Regions from separate parts of the Homo sapiens genome. Here region 2 is linked to region 1. The links are contacts of gene promoters, found by promoter capture Hi-C in human tissues and cell types (Jung and others, 2019). All regions are on one chromosome and are shown on one strand. The core of a region is centred on a gene start or on the middle of the fragment in contact, and the rest is flanking DNA. Distances in the headings are between cores, read along the strand shown.

Region 1 (6,116 bases), core at 1,261-3,760:
AGGGCTGGGGAGAGCTGCCTGGATTTCTCTTTGATGGGGGTGTTGGGGTGGGAATCACCATACACCTGACTGGCTGAGTGTATTTCAGGGATGGGACAGGCTTCTCAGCACAGCATGGCAGGTCAGGCCTGGGAGGGCCCCCCAGACCTCCTTGTCTCTAACAGCGGGTCATGGTGAGGGAGGCCTCTCTGTGCCCAAGGTGACCTTGCCATGCCGGTGCTCTCCAGCTGGGTATCTGTCCCCTGCAGTGGTGGGCTTCCTCTAAGTGGATGTTAAAGGCCCATCCAGTTCATGGAGAGCTAGCAGGTCACCAGGTTTAAGGTGCAGAGGCCCTGCTCTCTGTCACCCTGGCTGAGCCCAGTGTGCGGGTTCCTGAGGGCTGGGACTCCCGGGGCCCCATGGGAAAGTGTAGCCTGCAGGCCCATACCTCCCCCTGTGAATCACGCCTGGCGGGACAAGAAAGCCCAAAACACCCCAAACAATGAGTTTCCAGTAAAATATGACAGACATGATGAGGTGGAGGAGAGGAGGGACCTGGCTGGGAGTTGGCGCTAGCCTGTGGGTGATGAAAGCCAAGGGGAATGGAAAGTGCCAGGCCCGCCCCCTACCCATGAGTATAAAGCACTCGCATCCCTTTCCAATTTACCTGAGCACCTTCTCTTCACTCAGCCAACTGCTCGCTCACTCACCTCCCTCCTCGGCACCATGAGCACCTGCAGCCGCCAGTTCACCTCCTCCAGCTCCATGAAGGGCTCCTGCGGCATCGGGGGCGGCATCGGGGGCGGCTCCAGCCACATCTCCTCCGTCCTGGCCGGAGGGTCGTGCCGCGCCCCCAGCACCTACAGGGGTGGCCTGTCTGTCTCCTCCTCCTGCTTCTCCTCTGGGGGAGCCTACAGGCTGGGGGGCGGCTATGGCGGTGGCTTCAGCAGCAGCAGCAGCTTCGGTAGTGGCTTTGGAGGAGGATATGGTGGTGGCCTTGGTGCTGGCTTCGGTGGTGGCTTGGGTGGTGGCTTTGCTGGTGGTGATGGCCTTCTGGTGGGCAGTGAGAAGGTGACCATGCAGAACCTCAACGACAGCCTGGTCTCCTACCTGGACAAGGTGCGTGCCCTGGAGGAGGCCAACGCTGACCTGGAGGTGAAGATCCATGACTGGTACCAGTGGCAGCGGCCTGCTAAGATCAAAGACTACAGTCCCTACTTCAAGACCATCGAGGATCTGAGGAACAAGGTGGGTGAATGGGCAGCAGAAGGTGCCATTCCAGCTAGCTCCTTCTGGGAACAATAGATGCCCCAGGACACTGACACCTTAAGATTTCTCCATAGGACAGAGCCCACCCCAGATCCCTTCTTTCGAGGTCTTGGATGCCCTAAGAGCTGATCAGTGAGAGGATGCTCTCTCCTTCTCCAGCCTGCTCATCCCCTTCTGATGTCAAATCCTCAGATCAAGTGAGATCAGTGATTCCTGTCCTTACATTTTACAGAGGAAGCAGTTGAAGCTTTGAGAGGTGCTGTGACCAGCTGCAGGTCACATAGCAAATTAATGGCAGAGCCAAGGCTGGGTCCCTTGTGTCCTACCTTCCAGCACAGGGGAGGAGCGAGGCTCTAACGGGACCAGGCAAGACATCCAAACCGCTCATTAGCTCACTAGTCTGGGCTGTGGCTGCCGCCGCCCATAAGCCTTGGTACAGTCTGGTCCCTCCCCACAGCCAGGCAGGCATGGAGAGCCTGCAGAGACAATCAGTGTGGCCCCTTGACGTGCCCTGCACAAAGGGAGCCTGGCAGGCTTGTGCCCTGTCTCCAGCCCCCTCCCCCCTGCTCCCACATCACCTGGGAGCCCTCCCTGCGGGAGTCTGCTGGGCTCTAATGCCTTGCATGGATTAGGGAAATTCAATGATGATGTGGGGAACTCCAGTCAGACTCAGGGGCCAATATATCTTCTTATTCTTCCCCCGAGTCCTCTTTTCTAATCCCCTGTGTCAGTTGGGTTTTATCTCTTGAGAAAGTTCCATTTGAAGTCCCATGGCCCGTGAGCTTGAAAAGGAATGTGCATCTCTGCAGAGGACTGGCAGGGCTGGCTGTTGCAGAGAGAAGAGAGGCCAGCTCAGGAAGGAGGGCTAGGGAGCCTCAGATTATTCTCCTCACTTGGAGGTGGGGAACTTGAAGCCCCAAGACCCATTAGGTTTTGCAGCAAGTCAGTGGCAGAATTGCGACCAGAACTCCTGGGCTTTTGATTCTAAGCCCGGGGCTGCATCTACCCCCTCTGTTGACCATGAGTTAGCAAAGTCTTAGGACAGGCCTGGGGCATCTGTTTTCCTTTAGGCTGCTATGGTCAAGTTTTGTGGGGGGAAAGGGGAATTCAGGCAAGAACATGAAGCAAGAGCTTAATGTAGGTTACAGTGAAGTCCAGCTTGTGAAGTCCATTTGACAAATTACCTGTGCCCTTTCCATCCTGCAGATCCTCACGGCCACAGTGGACAATGCCAATGTCCTTCTGCAGATTGACAACGCCCGTCTGGCCGCAGATGACTTCCGCACCAAGCGAGTTTGCAGTGGTGGGCCAGAACATCCAGTGTCCCCAAAGTAGGGCATTTTTTGAGCAGTGTTTCCCAAATAGAACTAGCCAGTGCCAGAATAGCTGCATGAAAACTCCCTGGGGTGCTTATAAAAGAATAAGACTCTTGGGCCCCACCCTTGGAGTTTTGATTCAGCTATTTATAGCAGGTTAGCTGGGAGATTCTGGTCCACAGCCAGGTTTCAGAACTGCTGCTTTAGGGAGAGGCACTTTCCACTTCCCCAGCTGCCCTTGAAGTATAGGAGGGAATCATAGTTGGAGGACTTATGCATTATTTGTTGGCTGAAGCTAGAAGCGCAACCCCCTCCTGAATTCTGCAGCAAGATGAACTGCCTCATCCCCAGGCCCCAGGAATGTTCATATCTGAGCAATCAATGGGCACTGTGTTCAACCATGCCATTTTCAAGATTGGCTCCTTAAACCACCCACAAGGCACCAGCTCTGGGAGAAGCTGCAGGGAGAAGAGAACAAAGCCCTCACTGTGGTCAGGATGGGTGTATCATTCCTTTTCTCTGGGGTCATTCCAGGTATGAGACAGAGTTGAACCTGCGCATGAGTGTGGGGGCCGACATCAATGGCATGCGCCAGGTGCTGGGGTGCTGGACGAACTGACCCTGGCCAGAGCTGACCTGGAGATGCAGATTGAGAGCCTGAAGGAGGAGCTGGCCTAACTGAAGAAGAACCATGAGGAGGTGAGAACTATATGGAAAAGCCAGCTTAAAAGAAGCGCAGGGAGACTGGGTACGGTGGTGCATGCCCATAGTCCCAGCTACTTGGGAGGCTGAGATGGGAGGATCACTTGAACACAGGAGTTTGAGTCCAGCCTGGGCAACAAGGCTAGACCCTGTCAAAAAAAAAAAAAAAAAGAGAGAGAGAGAGGGAAGGGAGAGTCAAGATAGAATTGTGATTCTGGGAGGGCAGTATTCAGGCCTGACTAAGGAACCCCAATCTGCTGCCGTGGTGGAACTCCTGACTGTGGACTGTCCCTGGCAGTGCAGGAGATGAATGCCCTGAGAGGCCAGGTGGGTGGAGATGTCAATGTGGAGATGGACGATGCACCTGGTGTGGACCTGAGCCACATTCTGAACGAGATGCGTGACCAGTACGAGAAGATGGCAGAGAAGAACCACAAGGACGCAGAGGAACGGTTCTTCACTAAGGTGGGTGTCATTTGAGGTGGAAGGAACCCAGACCACCTGCCTTCTGGGGACTTCTGGTGTGAATGGTGTTCTCTTTTTTGCAGACAGAGAAGCTGAACCACGAGGTGGCCACCAACAGCGAGCTGGTGCAGAGCGGCAAGAGCGAGATTTCGGAGCTCTGGCACACCATGCAGAACCTGGAGATTGAGCTGCAGTCCCAGCTCAGCATGTTAGGAATGGTGCCAGGCCCGGTGGTGCACCCAGAACTGGCAGGGAGAGAATGGCCACACTCACTAATCCTTGATTCCCTTTCCCTCCCTCACAGAAAGCATCCCTGGAGAACAGCCTGGAGGAGACCAAAGGCCGCTACTGTGTGCAGCTGGCCCAAATCCAGGAGATGATTGGCAGTGTGGAGGAGCAGCTGGCCCAGCTCTGCTGCGAGATGGAGCAGCAGAACCAGGAGTACAAGATCCTGCTGGACGTGAAGATGCGGCTGGAACAGGAGATCGCCACCTACCGCCGCCTGCTGGAGGGCGAGGATGCCCAATGAGTCTTGGCCCTCCCCTTAATCCGCCCCACCATGGCACTCTCACGGCCCCACCATGTATCTAATGACCCTGCCCTTTTCTGTCTTCACAGCCTCTCCTCCTCCCAGTTCTCCTCTGGATCGCAGTCATCCAGAGACCGGTAAGACCTTCATCCTCTGCAGGCCTGGGCTCCAGGCCGCCCTCTGTACCCCAAGCAGGTCTAGGCATTGGCTAGGGGCTCCGTGAGGGGCTGAGCTCTAGTGATGTCACCCAGTTTCCCTTGGGAACCTCCTTGGGTGGAAGAAGCTATTTTCTAAACCCTCCTTAGGGCTAGGAGAGGCAGCCCCCACCTCTTACTTCTACCGGGTGTCTGTGGCAGATCCTATTGCTGTGGTGCTCAGCACCATGAACAGGGCCCTGCAGGGCTCCTCCCACCGAGACCACTCCATTGGGTGAATATGGACGGAACCAGCTGGGTGTGAGCTCTTAGGAAGCTCTAATCTGAAGACAAAGACTCTGTCTCTGACCTTTGGGAGCCCTAGTCTGAAAGAAATGTGTTGACGGTATCAGTGCTTGGGCAACAGCAGGGAGTGAAGCAGTAATCAGGGGAGAGGGCAACTGGGAGACAGTTTGAGTTTCCTCACCTTCTTGGCCTCCTTACTCCTGATTAGTCCATTGTCTGTCCACCTCTGGTAATGTCCTCTTTCCGCCTCTTCCCCAGTGACCTCCTCCAGCCACCAAATCCACACCAAGATCATGGATGTGCACGATGGCAAGGTGGTGTCCACCCACGAGCAGGTCCTTCGCACCAAGAACTGAGGCTGCCCAGCCCCGCTCAGGCCCAGGAGGCCCCCTGTGTGGACACGGATCCCACTAGAAGATCCCCTCTCCTGCCGCCTAAGCACTTCACACCTGGACCCTGCTTCACCCTCACCCCCTCCTGGCAATCAATACAGCTTCATTATCTGAGTTGCATAATTCTCACCTCTGTCTGGTCATTGTTAGGAGTGGGGATGGGGAGAAAGTGGGAGAAGCATCTCTTTGGAGCTTGTCATAGCACCTGGCTATGGCCCCTGGGACTGGGAAAAAGGTCCTGTGGGTGGGTTGGGCTCAGGTCCCAGGATATCTTTCGCCATCTCAGAAGACAAAGATAGATGTGTGTACCAGGTCATATGTGGCGTCTCCTAGGGTACAGAGAGATATTCATTCATTTCCTCACTCATTTTCATGTGTGTCCATTCATTCACCAGATATTGAGTGCCGCTATGTCAGGCACTATGTTAGGTTAAGGATTCCTAATGTTTTTGTGATCAGGGATTCCTTGGAGAATATTGAAAGCTATAGATCTTTCCTTCTGCCCCTACCTTCAAATAAGCACACATACATTTTCATATAGTTTCATGGGGTTCAGGGGTCTCCTAGAGCTCCTGGAGGTCCATGAACTGAAGGTAGGAACTCAAGCTCTCCTGACAGTCTTGTCAGGCAAAGCAACGACAGTGCAGGCAAAGCAACGAGGGTCTTGCCTGCAACACTGGAGGTTCCTTGATGGAAGGAACTATGATCCTCCAAACATCCAGTGTCCTCCCCAGGCCCCACAGGCACAGGTCTTTGATCTTAATGGGGGCTCAATAGGCCAGAGGGATGGGCAAATAATAAGCAACGGAGCTGAGAACCCAAGTTGCCCAGATGGTCCATGGGGAAGTTGGGTGCAGCCACAGTGCCACCGACAGTCAGGACGATGTCCCACTACGTGCCGGACCCACACCAGCAGTTTTACAATATGAGCTCTTTTAAGCCTCACAACAACCTCATGAGGCCAGAACTTTTTGTTGTTGTTGTTGAGACCAAGTCTCGCTCTGTCACGCAGGCTGGAGTGCAA
Region 2 (5,699 bases), core at 2,610-5,109, 1.6 Mb before region 1:
CTCCTGGGTCACCCGCTCGTGCAGCTGCTCGATGCTGTCAAGAAGGTGGCCAGCAGGTCAGGGCTGGGCCTGGGTCTTCCCCAGGGACCCCCAGCCCTGCCGCAGCCCCACTCACTCCTTCTCAGTCTCCTCAGCCTGCGGGTGCTTGAGCCGCCGGGCCTTGTCCACGTCCAGGAAGAGGTCCTTGAGCAGCACCTCGGCCTCCTTCAGGCTGCTGCCCGTCTCCTGCTGGTGCTGCAGGGCCTGGCTCTGCTCACTGTTCAGCCGGTCCTGTGGGCAGGGGATGGGCAGACTTGCCAGGGTCCAGAGCCCCCACACCCCTGCTGCCCATCATTGTGGGCCTGAGCCCCACCTTTGGGACCCCAGCTATGCTGGCCAACCTCGAGGCCCACGCCAGGCACAGGGTCAGGCCCAGGGCGTCCATGAGGCAGGTGACAAAGACACAGGGGAGCCCAGCAAAGAAGGAAGTTGAGCCCTCTCTCCCACCGTGTGTTAGGGGACAGGCGGTGCAGGACAAATGTCATCTGTCCCATCTTCACCATCACCAGGGGGCACTCAGGGAGTGCCAGGCCTGATGATGGGCCTCCCATGCCACCCAGCCTGCCCACACCCTGCCAACTGCTGCCGGGTTCTCACCTGCTGCAGCCTCTTCTGCGTCTCCAGGATGTCCCGCTCCACCTGGTCGGCGCTGGCTTGCATGTGGGAGATGAGCAGGGTCAGCTCCTGGGTGGCATTCTTGGTGGGTGGAGGGGACAGTGGGCAGCTCGGTGGAAGAGGCCCCTCTGTGCCCCATCCAGGTGGCGTCCCCTGCCCTCTCTCCACCCCATCCCGCCCCCACAGCCTAGCACACTGCCCTGACTTTGGGGTCTCTCTCTGCAGGAGGCTCTGTGAGCTAGACCTGGTTGGGGGTGTTAGCACTGCCCCGCCACATGAGGGGTCAAAAGGTGAGGGTCTCAGGTCTGTGTGGTGCTGGGTGTCAGGCGGCCTCGGTGTCCCAGCCTCAGCCAGCTGTGCTGGCAGTGAGTTCCCGACCCCACCCAGCTGCCTGCCACTTCCCCCCTGTGAGCCGGTAGTACCTGAGCCAGCCTGGCTGGGCCCTGGGAGGGGCAGTTGGGCTGGCTGGGGCAGGGAGGCAGCAGCATGCCCCCCACCCCCACCTCCTCCCACTCCAGCCCTGTGTTCCCCTATACCTCCTCCACCCCAGGGAGCTTTGCCAGAGTGCTGGCTTCAGCAGCCGTCTAGAGGAGCCTCACACTGTCAGAGTCGGGGAGCGGGGGCAGGCGCAAGAGACTGCTGGGCACCCTAACATTCTCCAGAGTTGAGGGTTCAAAGCCCAGATTGTGCCCTAACTTGCTCTGAGTTACGTGGTCAGGGACGGAGGGGAAACCTTGCTTCCACCCCAGGGCTTTTTCTGTGCATTCGCCCTGCAGCCTCCATAGAGCACCTGCTGTGTGCATGCAGTCACTCTGTGGAGGTCACAAGGCCAAGCAGACCTAAAAGAGGGCAGATTGGTCCAAGCCTTATGAGCACAGTGCCTTATGGGGGATCATTATCCTGGGGCAGGGGAAGCCTTGAACTGGGTCAAAGGATGGGCCCCCCCAGGCAACGGGACAGTGCTGGTGAAGGCACAGCAGTCTGGAAGAACTCTGTGGCCAAGACAGCCTGGTTTCATCTTTCTCCATCATTAATGCTGTGTGACCTTGGGCAAGTTACTCAACCTCTCTGTGCCTGAGGTTCCTCACTCGTAAAGCAGGATTTTAATAAAAATATCTATGCCTTAGGGCTATTGTGAGCATTAATTGAATTTATCTGTCTGAAACATCCAGTGCAGGCCTGGTGCAGAGTCGGCACCCAGCACGTGTTAGTTTTTATCCCACTAGAGGGCTAGTGCCTTGAAGGCAGGGGCCTGTTGGTTCTGTCTACAGCGACATCTCCAGTGCCTAGAACAGTCCTGGCATGCAGTAAGTGCTCAGTAAGTTCATGTCAAACGAGTGGATCGCACGTGAGGTGATCCAGAGCCAACAGGGCCCTGAGGACTGAGCTGCCCCAGGCCAGGAGCACACTGCTGGGGAGCCTGCCTGGACAGTGGGAGCTGCAGGTGCTGGGCCCTGGGCACTCCTGCTCAGGTCCCGCCTCCTGGGATGGCTGCTCCCACCAGGAGCTGCACACTCCACCCTGGGTGGGGCTCAGGTGCCCCAGGGAGGACAGGTCACTCAGTGAGAGTGTTAGCTGAGAGTCTTAACCACTGTCTTTCCCGTCGGCCCAGACGCCCAGACTCGGTGTCTGTTGGTGCCTTGATCCCTATCGGGGTAATGGGCACCCCCACTCCCACACCAGCTTTTCATCCCTGAGCTTATCTCGACACCCTGGACCCAGGCGGGCTGCTGCCTCCTCTGCAGATGAGCTGAAGCCAGTGAGTGGGAAGAGCGCCACCCAATCCATCCACAGAGAGCTGAGGCTGGGCCCCAGAGAACCGGGTGGTCCAAGGGAGGCCCAGTGCCCCCTGCACCACACCCACTGGAAAAGGAAGCCCCAGCTCTATTCTGTTTTGTTTTAACAGACAGGGTCTTGCTCTGTCACCCAGGCTAGAGTGCAGTTGAGTGATCACGGCTCACTGCAGCCTCGACTTCCCGGGCTCAAGTGATCCTCTCACCTCAGCCTCCCAAGTAGCTCTGACTACAGGCATGCACCACTACATCCAGATAATTTTTGTATATTTTTTATAGAGATGGGATTTCGTCATGTTGCCCAGGCTGGTCTCCAACTCCTGGGCTCAAGTCATCCACCCGCCTCAGCCTCCCAAAGTGGTAGGATTGCAGGCATGAGGTATTGCACCAGGATTTTTTTTTTTTTTAAAGACAGAGTCACAGTCTGTCACCCAGGCAGGAGCGCAGTGGTGTGATCATGGCTCACTGAAGCCTCAAACTCCTGGGCTCAAGCAATAGGCATGAGCCACCATACCTGGCTGTTTTTTATTTTTATTTTTTTTATAGAAACAAGATCTCCCTATGTTGCCCAGGCTGGTCTCAAACTCCTGGGCTCAAGGAATCCTCCCGCATTGGCCTCCTAAAGTCAGGGATTATAGGCGTGAGCTACCGCGCCCAGCCATGAACCCCTAACTCTTCAATACAACAAGGCCCTGGGTGAGAGCTCTGGGGAGGGCTCTGGCTTAGGCAGGAGGCAGCACAGCCCCTGCATCCCTACCCCAGGGATCCCACCCCACCCCCTCAGTCCTCATGCCCTGCACCCAGGCTCCAGGGGTCATCCCAGCCAAGTAGAGCCTTGGGGCAGAGCTGCAGTCACACAACCAGGCTCTCCTGTGTCCCAGCCTCTGGCAGAGGAGGGCATCAGTGCAGGCTCCTGTCCGGCACTTCTCCCGCTGAGCAGCATCAATCTGTGGCCCACAGGCCCCCTTAGAGGATGTAGGGAGCCCCAGGCCATCCCCTGCCTCCTGCCAGGGCTGAAGTTCGGCCTGGGCCTGCGGCTCCCAAGGCAGGGAGAGAGTCCACCCCTGGGCCCTTTGTCCTCGGGACACCAAATGCCAGCACGGGGCTGGTCCTGGGCTCTGGGCCGCCGCCAGGTGGCTCAAGGACCTGGGCCTGGCACCACCCCCACCCTAGCTCCCTGGCTCCCCATCCCCTAGTCCCACTCACCAGCTGTGCTTGCTGGGGGAGCCTTTGGGGGACCCCTTGGCTGGGGAGTCCTTGGGGGACCCCTTCCCCTGGGAGCCTTTGCTCAGTCCCTTGAACATGGTCATAAAGGCAGGTGCTGGCTCAGGCTGGGCTTGGCTGGTGAAGGAGGGCAGGAGGGCAGGTGGGAGGCAGCGGGCGTCCTTGCTGGCTGGTCAGCTAAGTCTGGCAAGGTGGGGCGGCTGGGCATTGGGGAAGGGAGTTTCTGGGAGGCCCCTCCTTGCAGGTGAGGCAGCAGGCGGCCAGGCCCCAGGCCTGCCGCGCATGCACCCACAAAAACCACACTCATGCCTGCTCTTGCATAACCAGTCTGGGAGGAAAGGGCACAGCCTTGAGGGTGGGGCCGAGCCTGCCCGACTCCCACAGAAGGTTTGGACTTGTTACACCCACATGCCCAGGGGAGCGCGGTGGCGATTACACCCAGATAGGGAAGGAGCTGGGCCAGGACAGATGGGTCTGGAGACAGACGTGCACATGCAGGCGCAGGCTCAGCGGAGAGGCCCCAGCTCTGGAGCTCAGGATTAATAAACATCTCCAGCCAGCTCAGAGGCCCTGCTGCCAGGCTGGCCCCCACCCACAGCTCTCAATCCCCCAGGAGAGGAGGGGGTGTCCTGCCAGCCCAGGGCCTGGCTCTGTGTTCTCCACTGACATGATGGGGCAGCCAGGGGACGTTCACTCCAGACAACTGGCACAAGGTCCATTTTTTTTTTTTTTAAGAGACAAAGTCTTGCTCTGTCACCCAGGCTGGAGTGCAAAGGCACGATCTCGGCTCACTGCAACCTCTGCCTGCCGGGTTCAAGCGATTCTCCTGCCTCAGCCTCCCAAGTAGCTGGGATTACAGGTGTCCGTCACCACGCCCAGAAAATTTTTGTATTTTTAGCAGAGAAGGGGATTCACCATGTTGGCCAGGCTGGTCTGGAACTCCTGACCTCAAGTGATCCACCCGCCTTGGCCTCCCAAAGTGCTGGGATTACAGGCATGAGCCACCATGCCCGGCCCCATTTTATAAAGTGTGCACAGTGCAGCAGCACCAGGGCTGGCTTCAGGTGCCACTAAGCCTGGGCTCTGGCTGAGGCCCGGGAGCCCGATGCACTTGGCTTTTCCTACCTGCCTCTTCCCCCACCCAGAAATGGCCCCTGGTGGCTTTTATGAAGTCAGATTGAGTGGCAGAGAGTGATGCCAGCTTATTGGTCTTTTCCTCACACTGGGGACCAGGGCTGCTGCCTTTTCCTTCTGTGGTGACCCTCAGCGTCTTCAAGAAAGGGGCGATGGGACCCCCCTTTCCAGGCGCTCATTTTACTGGCCCAGCGTAACAGGCCCCTTCTGCAGAGGTGGCGTCGCTTTCCAGGTCATTCCTGAAATCCCCGTGGTTTTAGTGGAAGGAGGGCTTGAGGGGGAGCCAGGGGATGGAACAGGCGGACTGGGTGACATCACCTGGTCATCCTGGCAGGCCTCGCTGAGGACAAAACAGCCTGGCAGGAGAGAAAGGTCCCAGCAGATGGGGGAGACCAGGGACCGACACCTGATACTGGCCTCAGGCCCCCATGGGATAGAAAAGGCCTGTGCCCTTTTTGGGTGAATCTCATGGGAAGCTCCTGAACTCGGCCATGGAGAGGGGATGCAGTAAACCCCCATTCCTAGAGGTGGAGGAGCTGACAGGGGCAGTGGGGGTGGGGAGGGCAGCAGAGGCCCCTGACAGCAATGAGGAAACAAAGTGGTCTCCAGTGTCCTCAGCTCCCGGCCCATGTCTTGAGTGAGATGCCAATAGAGATGACTGGCCACTCAGCCTCTGCCCCAGCCTGCTCCCACTTTATTCCTGGTGACACTTGTCTTCTAACCACTCATTGTACGCCTGCAATCAACTGTCTTCAGAAAGGAGCCGTTTGTGTGAATGACTATGGGGGCCAACGCCAGCCTCACCCCTGGCCTCCCTGACTCACCTTTTCTTTTCTTTTTTTTTTTTTTTTTTGAGACAGAGTCTCGCTCTGTCTCCCAGGCTGGAGTGCAGTG

The links. Contacts are between HindIII fragments. The study calls those that stand out against the background at their distance.
Region 2: the fragment with the promoter of EVPLL here is called in contact with a fragment that was not itself captured in region 1 in 1 of the 25 tissues and cell types used here (dorsolateral prefrontal cortex).

The regions. Positions count from the first base shown.
Region 1 is chr17:16,817,082-16,823,197 of GRCh38, reverse strand. LOC105371552 (a long non-coding RNA gene) reads right to left here and starts at 771. Exons shown (of 3, transcript XR_934251.1): 1 at 690-771. It also overlaps the pseudogene KRT16P6. RefSeq lists a silencer at 4,812-5,012. The HindIII fragment of the contact is 7,379 bases long and covers 1-6,116 here.
Region 2 is chr17:18,375,938-18,381,636 of GRCh38, reverse strand. EVPLL (envoplakin like) reads right to left here and starts at 3,859. Exons shown (of 11, transcript NM_001145127.2): 1 at 3,654-3,859; 2 at 637-735; 3 at 116-270; 4 at 1-34. The coding sequence starts at 699. RefSeq lists an enhancer at 1,057-1,558. The HindIII fragment of the contact is 26,383 bases long and covers 1-5,699 here.